2 separate regions of the Homo sapiens genome follow, and region 2 is linked to region 1. The links are contacts of gene promoters, found by promoter capture Hi-C in blood cells and fetal thymus (Javierre and others, 2016). All regions are on one chromosome and are shown on one strand. Each heading gives the region's core, a stretch centred on a gene start or on the middle of the fragment in contact. The rest is flanking DNA. Distances are from core to core; before and after follow the strand shown. Region 1 holds the start of ARHGAP27 (Rho GTPase activating protein 27). Region 2 holds the start of GFAP (glial fibrillary acidic protein).

Region 1 (6,976 bases), core at 1,415-3,914:
GATACAGGGGACATTTCTCAGAGGAGAAATAAAGGAGAGATGGGGCTCAGGAAAGAAGGGTTATTTAAGTGGATCCCCCGATTCAGGGCTCATGGTTTTAGGGCTCAAAATGACTTTTACTTGGCTGCTGACCTTCCTCAGAAGTTCCAGGAGAAGCCCAGGGGACCCCTCCAAGGGGAGGCCCACACCACTGTCCATTTTAAGAACAGGAGCAGGAAACAGACTTAATTCTCAGGGAAATCAGGTTGCAGTAAAATGGGATGGAAACAGACAACATTCAGGTCTGAGATTTCCTGTCCTTAAAGGCCCCTTTCAGATTACAAGGTGGCACCCTCTGCCAATCTAGGTGCCCCAGCTTCCCCCAAGGGCTTCACCTCCCTCCAGGACAGTAGATGGTAGGCCCGGAGAAGAGAAGAGAAACTGGGAGAGGGAGGCCCAGAGGAGGGCCACAGCACGTGACCTGGTGCTGCCCTGCCGGTGGGTTCAGGCCCTCTCCAGCCTCAGCAAAGCGCCCCTGAGGCCACTTGTTTCCCCTTCTCCCCTCCCTTTTTTTTTTTTTTTTTTTTGGATACAGTCTCACTCCAATGCCCAGGCTGGAGTGCAGTGGCGTGATCTTGGCTCACTGCAACCTCCACTTCCCGGGTTCAAGCAATTCTCCTGCCTCAGCCTCCTGAGTAGCTGAGACTTCCCCTTTTCCTCTTCTCTCTGAAGGAGGACAGGTGGTTTGGAGATTCCAATCCAACCCCCAAGAGCTTATCATATAATGTAAGTAGTCATAATAGCTGATGTACCCCGGCATGGTGGCTCACACCTGTAATCCCAGCATTTTGGGAGGCCGAGGAGGTTGGATCATCTGAGGTCAGAAGTTCAAGACCAGCCTGGCCAACATGGTGAAACCCCGTCTCTACAAAAATACAAAAATTAACTGGGCATGATGGCGGGTGCCTGTAATCCCAGCTACTCAGGAAGCTGAGGCAGGAGAACCACTTGAACCCGGAGGCGGAGGTTGCAGTGAGCCAAGATCGTGCCGCTGCACTTCGGCCTGGGAGACAGAGTGAGACTCTGTCTTAAAAAAAATAGCTGATATATTGTGTGCGCTGGGCATGTGGTAAGCACTGCTTAGTGGACCTCATTTAATCTTCCCAATAATCCAGTGAAGTGGGTGTTACTATCCCATTGACAGGAAAGAAATCTGAGCTGCAGAGATAAGGCAGAACTCCCAAGGCCTACCAGCCGCCAAGCAGCAGAGTGGGGCATCATACCTGCCTGACCCCACGCAAAGACCATCACCACTGCCAGCCACTGCCTGGCTGTGCTGCAGGTGGAGAGGGACCTAAAAGGTAGGGAGGGAGAGAAGATTCCTCCAGCCACGATTTTCTTTTTTTCTTTTTTGGTTGTTGTTTTTTGAGACGGAGTCTTGCTCTGTCGCCCAGGCTGAAGTGCAGTGGCACGATCATGGCTCACGGCAGTCTCCGCCTCCCAGGTTCACACCATTCTCCTGCCTCAGCCTCCGGAGTAGCTGGGACTACAGGCTCCCGCCACCACGCCCGGCTAATGTTTTATATTTTTAGTAGAGACGGGGTTTCACCGTGTTAGCCGGGGTTTCACCGTGTTAGCCAGGGTTTCTCAATCTCCTGACCTCATGATCCGCCCGCCTCGGCCTCCCAAAGTGCTGGGATTATAGGCGTGAGCCACCGTGCCCGGCACCAGCCACTATTTTCTAAGCATGTCGGGCACCAAAGACCAGTGCTGAGTTCTGCTGTGTGCCCACCCTGGAGGGTCCCAAGGTGCCACCAAGGCTCAGACACACAGATTCTCAGAGGAAGTGTGGACTCACAGGTGGGCAATGCCTAGCAGAGGCAAAGATATAGAGGTAAGGGAGTTCCTTACTTACTATATCTTACAAAGATATAGAGGTAAGGGAGTTCCTTACTTACTATATCTTACAAAGATATAGAGGTAAGGGAGTTCCTCTGAATCTGGGTGGCCAGATTCAGCTTCCCACCCAACCCTGGGTCCCCAGGAGGTGGTGTCAAGAGAGGCCATGGCCTGGGATGCGGGCCCTTCTTCCTCCCAGAACACTGGCCTGAATCAGCCAGCTCTTGGCACACACAGCCAGGTCCACAGGCACAACTGTTCCTTGGGGCCCCTGAGGGCAGGGGGTGTGCTGGGGCTGTGGCTTGTAATGTCTGGAGTGAGTGCAGGCTCAGATCAGGGCGAGGCTGCTTGTCCAGAGAGGCAGAAAATTCTCCAACAGAAGACCCCCAAGGCGGAGGGCCCTGGGGCTGGACTCCTGGAGGTTGTTCTGAGCTTACCCTGTGGACGGATTGGAGGGTGGCCCTCCTTCCCCACAAGGATCAAGAGGGGGTGGGGGATGGTGGGAGGGCAATCTGGCCAGGCGAACCTGCGGGGGAGGCTCCCGCCCTCCCCAGTCCCACCATCTCAGCCCCGCAGCCTCTTTCTCCCTGGAGACAGCCAGGTGCGGCCCAGGATCCCGGGAAAGGCAGGGGAGGGGGTGGCGTCTTCGCTCCTCAGGCGCTGGCCCGGCCCAGAGGGGACAGGAAGCCAGGACACCGGGGATTGTCTCTCGCAACCGCAGCCCAGCCCCAGTCCGGGAGGAAGTTCTGCCCGGCGCTCTCCGCCGGTGCCTCCCTGGTTATATTGTTGAACAGGAAACCCGGCAGCGCGGGAGCCGCACAGTCGAGGAGGGAGCGCGGGACGCCGAGCCCACGCGCGCCTGCCGGGGCAAGTGGAGGCGAAGCCGGCGAGCGGACGCCCCGAGGTGCCCGGGCAGGCAGGGTCGGGAGTGGGGCGCCGAGCGGGGGTTGGGGGTGGGAAGTGGGGTGGGGGTGGGGAAAGGGCAGGGTTGGGAAGGGAAGGGTGCGGCAGGTGGCGGGTCCGCACCCGGGAGCTCCGCGCGCCTGCTCCCCTTGTCTCCGCGCTGGGGCGGGAGCTGCGCGGGCCGCATCCCACGGGGAGGAGAAGGTAGGCGAAGGGCTGCCCTCCATCTGGGGGCTGGAGGGAAGCAGGCCCAGGCCCCCAGCGCCGACCCAGGCGTTGACGCCCCTGTAGCTTGAGTCGCCTGGGCAGTGGACGCAGGGGACCTCCTGGCGACTGGTGCGCTGTCGCGCTCCAGGGATCCTCCCGGCTTCCCCAATCCCTCCCCTTCTCTGCGTTTCCCCAGGGTCGGGGAAGGAACCGAGGTCCGGTCCCCTTCTTATCCAGCCCGAGACATCGAGCTCCGGTGGGCGTCCCTGCGCTGGGAATCCCGCTCGGAGTTTTTCCAGGCCCGGCCGGGCTGCTCCGGGAAAGGCCCTGGTGAGGGAAGAGGTGGGCCCGGAGCGGGCGGATTTGCAATCCGGTTGGAAGGGCTCGCAGTGGGTGATTCAGGGTGCAAATGACCTCCCCGGGAACAGGAACGCCCGCACGAGACAACCAGCCCCAGCCCGGCATTCCCAGAGCCGCGCACAGGAGGGACGCAGGCACTCCCGGACAGCAAATCCCGGGGGGTGGGGGGTGGGGGGGCGGGGAATAGAGGGGGAAGGCGGAGCGGGGGCGGTCCCATCCTCCTTGGGCTCCGCTCGCGACCTGCCAGTGCCCCTTCAGACGCAGCAGTCCCGGCTCCAGGTGCCGGCCTTCTGCTCTGGGCCTCGTCCCAATGCCCCCCAAGGTCCCCAGCAGAGGCATTCAGGCTCCTCCTCGCCCCACCCAGACACGGCTGCTTTGGGTATCGGTGACAGCACTCCTGAGCGTCCCTGTCCCTCTTCGCTCTGCTTGCCAGCTCCTGTTCCGCGCAGCCTCTCCGGCCTCGCCCCTGGAAACCCCGCCCAGGGCGATGGTAGGGGCCTAACCTGCAGCCACCGCCGGCTCCGCCCACCCAGCCCATGGGCTCCCTGAGGCCCGCCCAGCCGACGTGAGTGCGCTGCGGGGTCCAAGGGGAGGGGGCGCCGGGGGAGTGTCCTGCTTGGGGTTTGTTGGTTCAGCACCGGGCAGCTCGATGACCCCGCCTCCGGGGCCCAGCGTGCTTAGTGACTCAGTTTACACCCTTTCCTCGTCGAGGAACGCTTGACAAAGTGGCGGAGGAGCCCTGCTGGGGCCCCCGTTGGAACCTGCTCCTCTGCCTCGGCAAGCGGCGGTCTCCTGGCCCCGGGTCCGGGCCACCTTAGGGGGCAGGAAGAGGTGTGGTCAGTGTGGGAGTTTGGAGGGGCCATGCACTTCCGGAGAAAACCGACTCATGGCTTTGGTGGAGGGGCGCAGACAGATTTAGTTAGGCTCTCCCCCATCCCTGACACCCCGAAGCCCGGGCGGGAGCGGGGCTTATGACCACCACTCCGGAGAGCTTTGGGTGGCCCTGCTCTGGGACTCCGCACTTATAGTCACTGTCTCAGAGTGCATTCTCCAGGAGCCACTCGTGGGGACACTGTAGGGGTCACAGGGCAGGTGGACAGGCCACAGGGGCAGGGCCTTTCTCGGGGGGCGGCGTGAGAGCTGGAGAGCAGGGGGCGGTGCGGGCCGGGCTGGGCGGGCCGGGCTCGGGCTCACGTCTGCGGTGATGCAGCTGGGGAAGGAAAGAGAAACCGAGAGAACCGGTTCCCCTGCATTGGCAGCGGAGGCCTCTACAGCAAGGCCCTCGGACTAAGGGGGGCAGCGACAGCCCCCAGGTAGAGCTGTTCGCTCGGCCCCCTACAGAGCCCACATTCCAACTCTGACCAGGGGGTCGGGGCGCAAGCTGCTGGAGGGAGGCAGTGCTACGAGACCCTCTGCTGATTCTCTGCGGGCGGGAGGCTTCCAGGCGGGACAGAGCCGGGGAGCGGCAGTAAATGGGGTGTTCTTCCTACTTGACTGACGGAAAACTAAGGCGCAGTCAACTATTAAGCAAGCGTGGTGTCGACCTTAGAGCGGGCAATCACCCCTCGTTTTAAAGCCAAGGCTTCCCTCGCAGTCGATTTGGACCAAGACTACCCACAATCTCCCCACCGCAGGACTGAAGCAAGGGTCAAATCTTAGAATCAACCCCACAGAACGAAGGGCTGTCCTAATTCCAGCACTGAGTGTAAGAATGGAAGCCTTACATGTGATTTTATGCAAGTTCCCATTTTAGAGATGGGAAAACTGAGGCCCGAAGGCGAACGGCGAGTGCAGGATCGGGACTCGAACCCAAGTCTGTCCCCGAGTGCGGGGCTATTCCAGGCTCGGTGGTCTTGACCTCCGCGGCCCTCCTTCTTGTTGCCCGCAGGAAAACGCCGCGGCTGCGATGGCGGCGGACGTGGTGGGGGACGTGTACGTGCTGGTGGAGCACCCCTTCGAGTACACCGGCAAGGACGGGCGCCGCGTGGCCATCCGGCCGAATGAGCGCTACCGGCTGCTGCGGCGCAGCACCGAGCACTGGTGGCACGTGCGGCGTGAGCCCGGCGGCCGCCCCTTCTACCTGCCTGCGCAGTACGTGCGCGAGCTGCCCGCGCTGGGCAACCCTGCCGCCGCCGCGCCGCCAGGTCCCCACCCGAGCCCCGCGGCCCCTGAGCCGCTCGCCTACGACTACCGGTTTGTGAGCGCGGCGGCGACCGCGGGCCCCGACGGCGCCCCCGAGGAGTCCGGAGGCCGAGCCAGCTCCCTGTGCGGCCCTGCGCAACGCGGCGCCGCGACCCAGCGCAGCAGCCTGGCGCCCGGCCTGCCAGCCTGCCTGTACCTGCGGCCCGCGGCGCCCGTGCGGCCCGCGCAGTCCCTGAACGACCTGGCCTGCGCCGCCGTCTCGCCTCCCGCCGGCCTCCTAGGAAGCAGCGGCAGCTTCAAGGCCTGCAGCGTGGCGGGCTCCTGGGTGTGCCCGCGGCCTCTGGCGCGCAGCGACTCAGAGAACGTCTACGAGGTCATCCAGGACTTGCACGTCCCGCCGCCGGAGGAGAGCGCAGAGCAGGTACCTCCCCGGGCGCTGGGGCGCGGAGGCGGGTGGCGCGCTAGGGACCGCGCCCGCACGGAGCCGGGGCGCAAGGAGACCCGCTCCGCTCAGCGTCGGGCACGACGCCCACCTCTGTCCGAAGACTTCGGATGAGCTCCCTCTCCCCAACCGCGAAACGTGAGGGGTGCACGCCCGCAGTCCCTCATCAGCAATTCCCAAGCTCCAAAGCTCCCTGGAAGCCCAGAGGCTTTTCGTAATCCAATTGGTGGCAAAATTGCGCTTGAACTGATGTGAGGCTGCTGATGGTCTTTATTTATCGCACTTGTGTGAATATTCATGTTTCGCTGCAGAAATGCAAATGAGCTCGATGGTCGGCTGCTGCCCCAAGCCCTGCTGGGAGGTTATATAACCTACTGCAGGTGTGTGCCCCATATTATCTTTCCAAGTCCCAGCTGTTCTGTATTCCGAAGCGCATCTGGGCACGGAACGGGGGATTGCGGGCCTGCCCCGGCCCAACCGACTTGCCCGTCTCCCAGGAGTCTGGGGTCAGATGAGAGGGTGGATGTGAAAGTCAGGCGTCTGCTTCCCTTTGAGGGTGCTTCCAGCATTTCAGTTCCTTTTTTTAAAGAACTCTTGATGGGTTTGTTTCAGAAAGACGTCCGGTTAAGTGAGGTTGTTTTTTTCCCCCTCTTCAGAGTCCAGTTGTGTTCATCTGGGAAATCGAAAATAGAGCACGTTTTAAAAACAGGTCTTACATCCTCAGAACACTCTAGGCGACCCTGACATTTTGAACTTTAGGAACTTTTCAGAGAGGGGCAGCCCGAGGGGAAAAAAAGATGCTCAGAACCGTTCTGCCATCTGCCACCGGCCGTGTGATGATCTAGGGGCAGTTCTTTTCCTCTCTTAGGGTCTCGGTTTGTTCTTTAGCCCAAAGGGAGGGGTTGGACAGATGACCTCTGATCCTCGGGAGCCTCTGATTTCTTTCGCTGTACCTGATGTCATTACCATGAACACTGATGCCCACTATGTGCCAGGACTGAGTCCGGGATGCCCAGACGAAGGAGACACGCCTCCGTAGGCCCG
Region 2 (6,976 bases), core at 4,477-6,976, 520 kb after region 1:
AGCTCCCATCTGACAATGAGCCATGGGTTCTAGCATTGGGGAGCCCCTATCCAAGGGAAGAGGATGACTCCTGTCCTGTGGGTGCTTTAGCCTGGGGTTGGGGGAAACACTGTCCTTAGAGAGACCCCAGTTTGCTGGGAAGACATAGGTCCTAGCATCAGGAAGTCCCCATCTGTTGGGGGAAAGGCATGGCCCCTCTCCTTGTAAAGCTTCAGGCTGAGATGCAAATGAGACCCACACCCAAGCAGGGGTGACACACAGAGCTTTTCAAACGGGATAGAGTTGTGGGGCTCAAGTCTAGGGATGGGGAGGGGTGAGGATGGAGAAAACAGCACCCACTGGGGGAGTCAGAGAGCCAAGAAAGCAGGTGGGAAAGCAGTCTCAGTACTCTGAGTCTCCAGGGCCGGCGGAGATAACTTGCCTGTGTCCCCTGGGAGATGAAGCCACCAACAACTCGTGGTCTGAGGGTAGACAGTGCTGGCTCTCCCCCATGCTTCACTAGCTGCTGCTCTCTGTCCTGTCCACACTGCCAAGTAACTGCCCTTGGGGGAGGGATGTCCACATACTCCCAAAGGAGTTAACAGGATACAGAAGCCCTTTCAGAGGTCCCAGCTCCTGCCCCTCCGCCAACCCCATCGCAGATCCGCTAACATGTCGATAGGTAAAGCTCCTGGTAGGTGTTATGAAATGGAAGCTCTAATTTGTCAAGCACCTGCTGTGTTCAGCTTTCACTGATTTTATTCTTACAACTACCTGGGGAGCAGGCATGGTTGAATCCCCATTTTACAGACGTGGAAATGAAGACTCAGGCAAGGTTCTTAAAGTCATCAAAGACTGCACAGCTACTGAGTGGCCAAGGCTTTGCTCCCTCTCCTTGAGGACAGTGCTATAGCAGTCAGAGTCAAGTCTAGAGAACAAAGCGGGTGATGCCCCTGGGTGAAACAAATTTGGGTTTTAGAAAACTCCGCCTACAGCTTTCTCCCTGCCTCTAAACTGCGGTGGCTGTGGCGGCTCACACCTGACCAGCTGAGCACCACCATCTAGTGGCCACCAGGCTCAGTTCCCTTCCTCGGGACAGGCCATGGATGAACAGACTTGCTGGTCACCAAGGCTCAGCCAGAGAGACTGTGTTCTCTTCACCCAGCTTGCTGACCACCACGCTGTGCCAGGCACTGGGCCAGGGCCAAGGGCCCAAGCAGAACCAGCGGGCAGCAGTCATGTGGCAAAACTGCCGTTTGAATTAGAGGCTGGCCTATTTGGCAAACACCAGGCACCCTGTGTGTGGGTTGATGCCACATGTGGGGCTGGTCTGTCCCAGGAGGCATCTGGGCTTTACCCTGTAAGCAGAAGGTCATCTAGCAGATTCTGATGTGAGGGAGGGGCTCAGGAAGGTCATCTTGTCCTCACCTCAGCTTGAAGCAGGCACAGCTTGGCTGTAGGCTCCTTGAAAGGGCATCCAGACTTCTCTCTCCATGGCTGGTATTATCCTGCTGTGCAGTCTAGAAGGCAGTCTAGGGTTTGGCCAGAGGCTTTAGAAGTTGGGGCCTTCCATTTGGGGAAGCAGGAGAGGAGGCACCCCAGAGAATGGGGCCTGAGCCAGGCTAGGAGGATGGGGGGTTTGGGTGGAGGCTGGACGGGCTGAGGGCCTACCCTTCTCTGTTTGCTGTGTCTGCCTGCAGCAGATGCAAATCAGAGTGTGGTTTAGAACAGAGAGAGGACAGTCACAGCGGCTCACATCTGTAATCCTAGCACTTTGGGAGGCTGAGGCCAGAGGATCACTTGAGGCCAGGAGTTCAAGACCAGCCTGGGCAACATAACAAGACTTGGTCTCTGAAAAAAAAAATTATCTGGGCACACTGTCATGTGCCTGTAGTCCCAGCTCCTTGGCAGGCTGTGGCAGGAGGATTGCTTGAGCTCAGAAGTCTGAGGCTGCAGTGGGCTATGATGGTGCCACTGCACTCTGGCCCTGGGTGGCAAAGTGAGACTTTGTCTCTAAAAAAAAAAAAAGAGAGAGAGAGAACATACTGTCATACTGTCCACCACTAGGGCTTGGTACATGAATGCATATAGTGGAAAATCATGCAGCTGTTAAATGATGATGCAGACAAATATTTATTGATGTGGAAAGATGTTCACAACATATTGTTGAGTGAGAAAAGCAAATTACAAAATAATTTGTACGGCATGAGCCCATTTTGAAAAAAATGATTATATATGTGTGGAAAAAATCTGGTAGTGTTTATCTCCAGGTGGCAAAATGATGGCTAATTACATTTTTTTGTATTGCTTATCTATAGTTTCTGACCTTTCTACAATGAATATTTAATTAAAAAGATAATGAAAGTTTGGAACACAACCACGACCAAATCTGTCTGTATCTTTGGTTCTCTGTGCAGACACCTTTAGATAGTTAAGGGTTGGCCAGGCGTGATCTATATGTACCGGTTGTATAGGTCATGCCTGTAATCCCAGCACTTTGGGAGGAAGAGGTGGGAGGGTCACTTGAGCCCAACAGTTCGAGACCAGCCTGGGCAACATGGCGAAACCTTGTCTCTAGTAAAATACAAAAATGAGCTGGGCATGGTGGTGTATCTCTGTGGTCCCAGCTACTAGAGAGGCTGAGGTGGGTGGATCGCTTGAGCCAGGGAGATTGAGGCTGTAGTGAGCTGTGATAGCACCACTTCACTCTAGCCTGGGCAACAGAGCAAGACCCTGTCTCAAAAAACAAAAACAAGATAGTTAAGGGTTGAGTGTGAGGAAAGGTCTGAGGGTTGAGAAGGGGTGGAGGATGCACCTGGGCCTATGACAGGGGTCCACGGAGGTGGCTGATGGCAAAAGCTGGGGGACTCCAACTGCTGATGCTGAAACAAGCTTGTGTCTCACATACACAGGGACAGTTCACTGAGCTTCAATGACAGGCACCTCCTGCTCATCACATCTTTTCTCTCTAGGACAGCTTTGCCCTTATTTTAACTAGACTTCCCTTGAACCAAAAGGGAAGGCTACATGCTGTGACTTGCTGGGCAGCCTGGAAAGGCGGGCCACTCCTAGCCACAGAGATGAGACAGAGTTCAGACAAGAGCTTATCCCCAGTCTTCCTTTTCTATTTTGTTTATTTTATTTTATTTTTTTATTTATTGAGACAGAGTCTCTGTCACCCAGGCTGGGGTGCAGTGATGCGACATTGGCTTACTGCAGTCTCCACCTCCTGGGCTCAGGTGATCCTCCCACCTCAGCCTCCCGAATAGCTGGGATCACAGTAGTGCACCACCATACCTGGCTAATTTTTTTGTATTTTTTGTACAGACAAAATTTCACCACATTGCCCAGGCTGGTCTCGAACTCCTGGACTCAAGCGATCCGCCCACCTCAGCCTCCCAAAGTGCTCGGATTACAGGCATGAGCCACTATGCCCAGCCTTGCTCTTCCTTTAAAGCCTCCTGTCCTTCCCCAGGTCCCCAGTTCATAGCAGGATCAAAGGTCACTGGGCGCTCACCCCGTCTTCAAGATGCTCTTTCCTATGTCACTGCTTACGCCCAGGTCAGATGTGACTAGAGCCTAAGGAGCTCCCACCTCCCTCTCTGTGCTGGGACTCACAGAGGGAGACCTCAGGAGGCAGTCTGTCCATCACATGTCCAAATGCAGAGCATACCCTGGGCTGGGCGCAGTGGCGCACAACTGTAATTCCAGCACTTTGGGAGGCTGATGTGGAAGGATCACTTGAGCCCAGAAGTTCTAGACCAGCCTGGGCAACATGGCAAGACCCTATCTCTACAAAAAAAGTTAAAAAATCAGCCACGTGTGGTGACACACACCTGTAGTCCCAGCTATTCAGGAGGCTGAGGTGAGGGGATCACTTAAGGCTGGGAGGTTGAGGCTGCAGTGAGTCGTGGTTGCGCCACTGCACTCCAGCCTGGGCAACAGTGAGACCCTGTCTCAAAAGACAAAAAAAAAAAAAAAAAAAAAAAGAACATATCCTGGTGTGGAGTAGGGGACGCTGCTCTGACAGAGGCTCGGGGGCCTGAGCTGGCTCTGTGAGCTGGGGAGGAGGCAGACAGCCAGGCCTTGTCTGCAAGCAGACCTGGCAGCATTGGGCTGGCCGCCCCCCAGGGCCTCCTCTTCATGCCCAGTGAATGACTCACCTTGGCACAGACACAATGTTCGGGGTGGGCACAGTGCCTGCTTCCCGCCGCACCCCAGCCCCCCTCAAATGCCTTCCGAGAAGCCCATTGAGCAGGGGGCTTGCATTGCACCCCAGCCTGACAGCCTGGCATCTTGGGATAAAAGCAGCACAGCCCCCTAGGGGCTGCCCTTGCTGTGTGGCGCCACCGGCGGTGGAGAACAAGGCTCTATTCAGCCTGTGCCCAGGAAAGGGGATCAGGGGATGCCCAGGCATGGACAGTGGGTGGCAGGGGGGGAGAGGAGGGCTGTCTGCTTCCCAGAAGTCCAAGGACACAAATGGGTGAGGGGACTGGGCAGGGTTCTGACCCTGTGGGACCAGAGTGGAGGGCGTAGATGGACCTGAAGTCTCCAGGGACAACAGGGCCCAGGTCTCAGGCTCCTAGTTGGGCCCAGTGGCTCCAGCGTTTCCAAACCCATCCATCCCCAGAGGTTCTTCCCATCTCTCCAGGCTGATGTGTGGGAACTCGAGGAAATAAATCTCCAGTGGGAGACGGAGGGGTGGCCAGGGAAACGGGGCGCTGCAGGAATAAAGACGAGCCAGCACAGCCAGCTCATGTGTAACGGCTTTGTGGAGCTGTCAAGGCCTGGTCTCTGGGAGAGAGGCACAGGGAGGCCAGACAAGGAAGGGGTGACCTGGAGGGACAGATCCAGGGGCTAAAGTCCTGATAAGGCAAGAGAGTGCCGGCCCCCTCTTGCCCTATCAGGACCTCCACTGCCACATAGAGGCCATGATTGACCCTTAGACAAAGGGCTGGTGTCCAATCCCAGCCCCCAGCCCCAGAACTCCAGGGAATGAATGGGCAGAGAGCAGGAATGTGGGACATCTGTGTTCAAGGGAAGGACTCCAGGAGTCTGCTGGGAATGAGGCCTAGTAGGAAATGAGGTGGCCCTTGAGGGTACAGAACAGGTTCATTCTTCGCCAAATTCCCAGCACCTTGCAGGCACTTACAGCTGAGTGAGATAATGCCTGGGTTATGAAATCAAAAAGTTGGAAAGCAGGTCAGAGGTCATCTGGTACAGCCCTTCCTTCCCTTTTTTTTTTTTTTTTTTGTGAGACAAGGTCTCTCTCTGTTGCCCAGGCTGGAGTGGCGCAAACACAGCTCACTGCAGCCTCAACCTACTGGGCTCAAGCAATCCTCCAGCCTCAGCCTCCCAAAGTGCTGGGATTACAAGCATGAGCCACCCCACTCAGCCCTTTCCTTCCTTTTTAATTGATGCATAATAATTGTAAGTATTCATCATGGTCCAACCAACCCTTTCTTGACCCACCTTCCTAGAGAGAGGGTCCTCTTGCTTCAGCGGTCAGGGCCCCAGACCCATGGTCTGGCTCCAGGTACCACCTGCCTCATGCAGGAGTTGGCGTGCCCAGGAAGCTCTGCCTCTGGGCACAGTGACCTCAGTGGGGTGAGGGGAGCTCTCCCCATAGCTGGGCTGCGGCCCAACCCCACCCCCTCAGGCTATGCCAGGGGGTGTTGCCAGGGGCACCCGGGCATCGCCAGTCTAGCCCACTCCTTCATAAAGCCCTCGCATCCCAGGAGCGAGCAGAGCCAGAGCAGGATGGAGAGGAGACGCATCACCTCCGCTGCTCGCCGCTCCTACGTCTCCTCAGGGGAGATGATGGTGGGGGGCCTGGCTCCTGGCCGCCGTCTGGGTCCTGGCACCCGCCTCTCCCTGGCTCGAATGCCCCCTCCACTCCCGACCCGGGTGGATTTCTCCCTGGCTGGGGCACTCAATGCTGGCTTCAAGGAGACCCGGGCCAGTGAGCGGGCAGAGATGATGGAGCTCAATGACCGCTTTGCCAGCTACATCGAGAAGGTTCGCTTCCTGGAACAGCAAAACAAGGCGCTGGCTGCTGAGCTGAACCAGCTGCGGGCCAAGGAGCCCACCAAGCTGGCAGACGTCTACCAGGCTGAGCTGCGAGAGCTGCGGCTGCGGCTCGATCAACTCACCGCCAACAGCGCCCGGCTGGAGGTTGAGAGGGACAATCTGGCACAGGACCTGGCCACTGTGAGGCAGAAGTGAGGAGGGGATGGGGAAGGGGGGCCTTGTGAGCAGAAGGGGCTGAATCCCCAAGAAGGAGTGCCCGAGAAGTCTCAGGGAGGGGCCGAACCTCCCTGCTCCCTGGGCCTCCCTACCTCTTGATGGGGCACTATCCTTGCCCCCCAACATGATGGGAGGGACCAGAAACAGGCCCAGGGCCCCGGGGATCTGATGCCCGCATGCCTTCTGCCAGGAGTCCAGGGTCCCCTCAGCACCTCCCTACTGGGGAAAGCAGTGCAGGAGCAGCGGGGCCCCTGTGTTTCATTCATGGCTGGGCTTTGTGACTGTGGGCAGCGAGCTCACCTATTCTGAGCCTGTGTCCATATAAAGGAGGAGTTGGAAGCGGAGAAGGTTGATGTCCATGAGGGAGATTGGATTCTGGGGTGAAGAAAGTGAGGGAAAGAGCAGGCAGGTCTGGGCGCAAAGCACAGGTGACTGCCTGCCACCAGCTTGTGACCCCCATCAAGTTACTTTGACTTGCACAGCTGTGAAGCGGTGGTCATAATAAAATTCATTTCAAAAGGTGGTTACCTGGGATCAGAGGAATCCCCAGGGGCATGGCGCTTCACTGAGCTGACAGGACATGCATGTGTGCCTTCAAGTGCAGGAGGACATGTGCGTGTGTGTGTGTGTGTGTGCAACAGTGAGTGTATGCTTGTGGATGCGCCTGTGTGAGCAGAAGCAGGTGCACCAACCCTGATAAGGCACCTTAGTAATGAGTTAAGGCAAAAGCCCACATCTGCTCATCCTCCAG

What was found. Contacts are between HindIII fragments. The CHiCAGO score rates a contact against its expected background, and 5 or more counts as called.
Region 2: the fragment with the promoter of GFAP here is called in contact with the fragment with the promoter of ARHGAP27 in region 1 in 1 of 17 cell types (neutrophils); the score reaches 5.2 in neutrophils.

The regions. Positions count from the first base shown.
Region 1 is chr17:45,428,558-45,435,533 of GRCh38, reverse strand. ARHGAP27 (Rho GTPase activating protein 27) reads left to right here and starts at 2,664. Exons shown (of 20, transcript NM_001282290.2): 1 at 2,664-2,782; 2 at 3,185-3,318; 3 at 3,782-3,913; 4 at 5,237-5,911. The coding sequence starts at 5,255. LOC124904016 (a long non-coding RNA gene) reads right to left here and starts at 6,971. Exons shown (of 2, transcript XR_007065825.1): 1 at 6,886-6,971; 2 at 6,185-6,605. It also overlaps a transcript of PLEKHM1 not described here. RefSeq lists enhancers at 4,879-5,379, 5,380-5,880. The HindIII fragment of the contact is 25,899 bases long and covers 1-6,976 here.
Region 2 is chr17:44,914,250-44,921,225 of GRCh38, reverse strand. It overlaps GFAP (glial fibrillary acidic protein), which reads left to right and starts at 5,726. Exons shown (of 9, transcript NM_002055.5): 1 at 5,726-6,200. The coding sequence starts at 5,740. It overlaps LOC105371793 (a long non-coding RNA gene), which reads right to left and starts at 2,507. Exons shown (of 2, transcript XR_934781.3): 1 at 1,408-2,507. RefSeq lists an enhancer at 694-1,193. The HindIII fragment of the contact is 16,653 bases long and covers 2,874-6,976 here.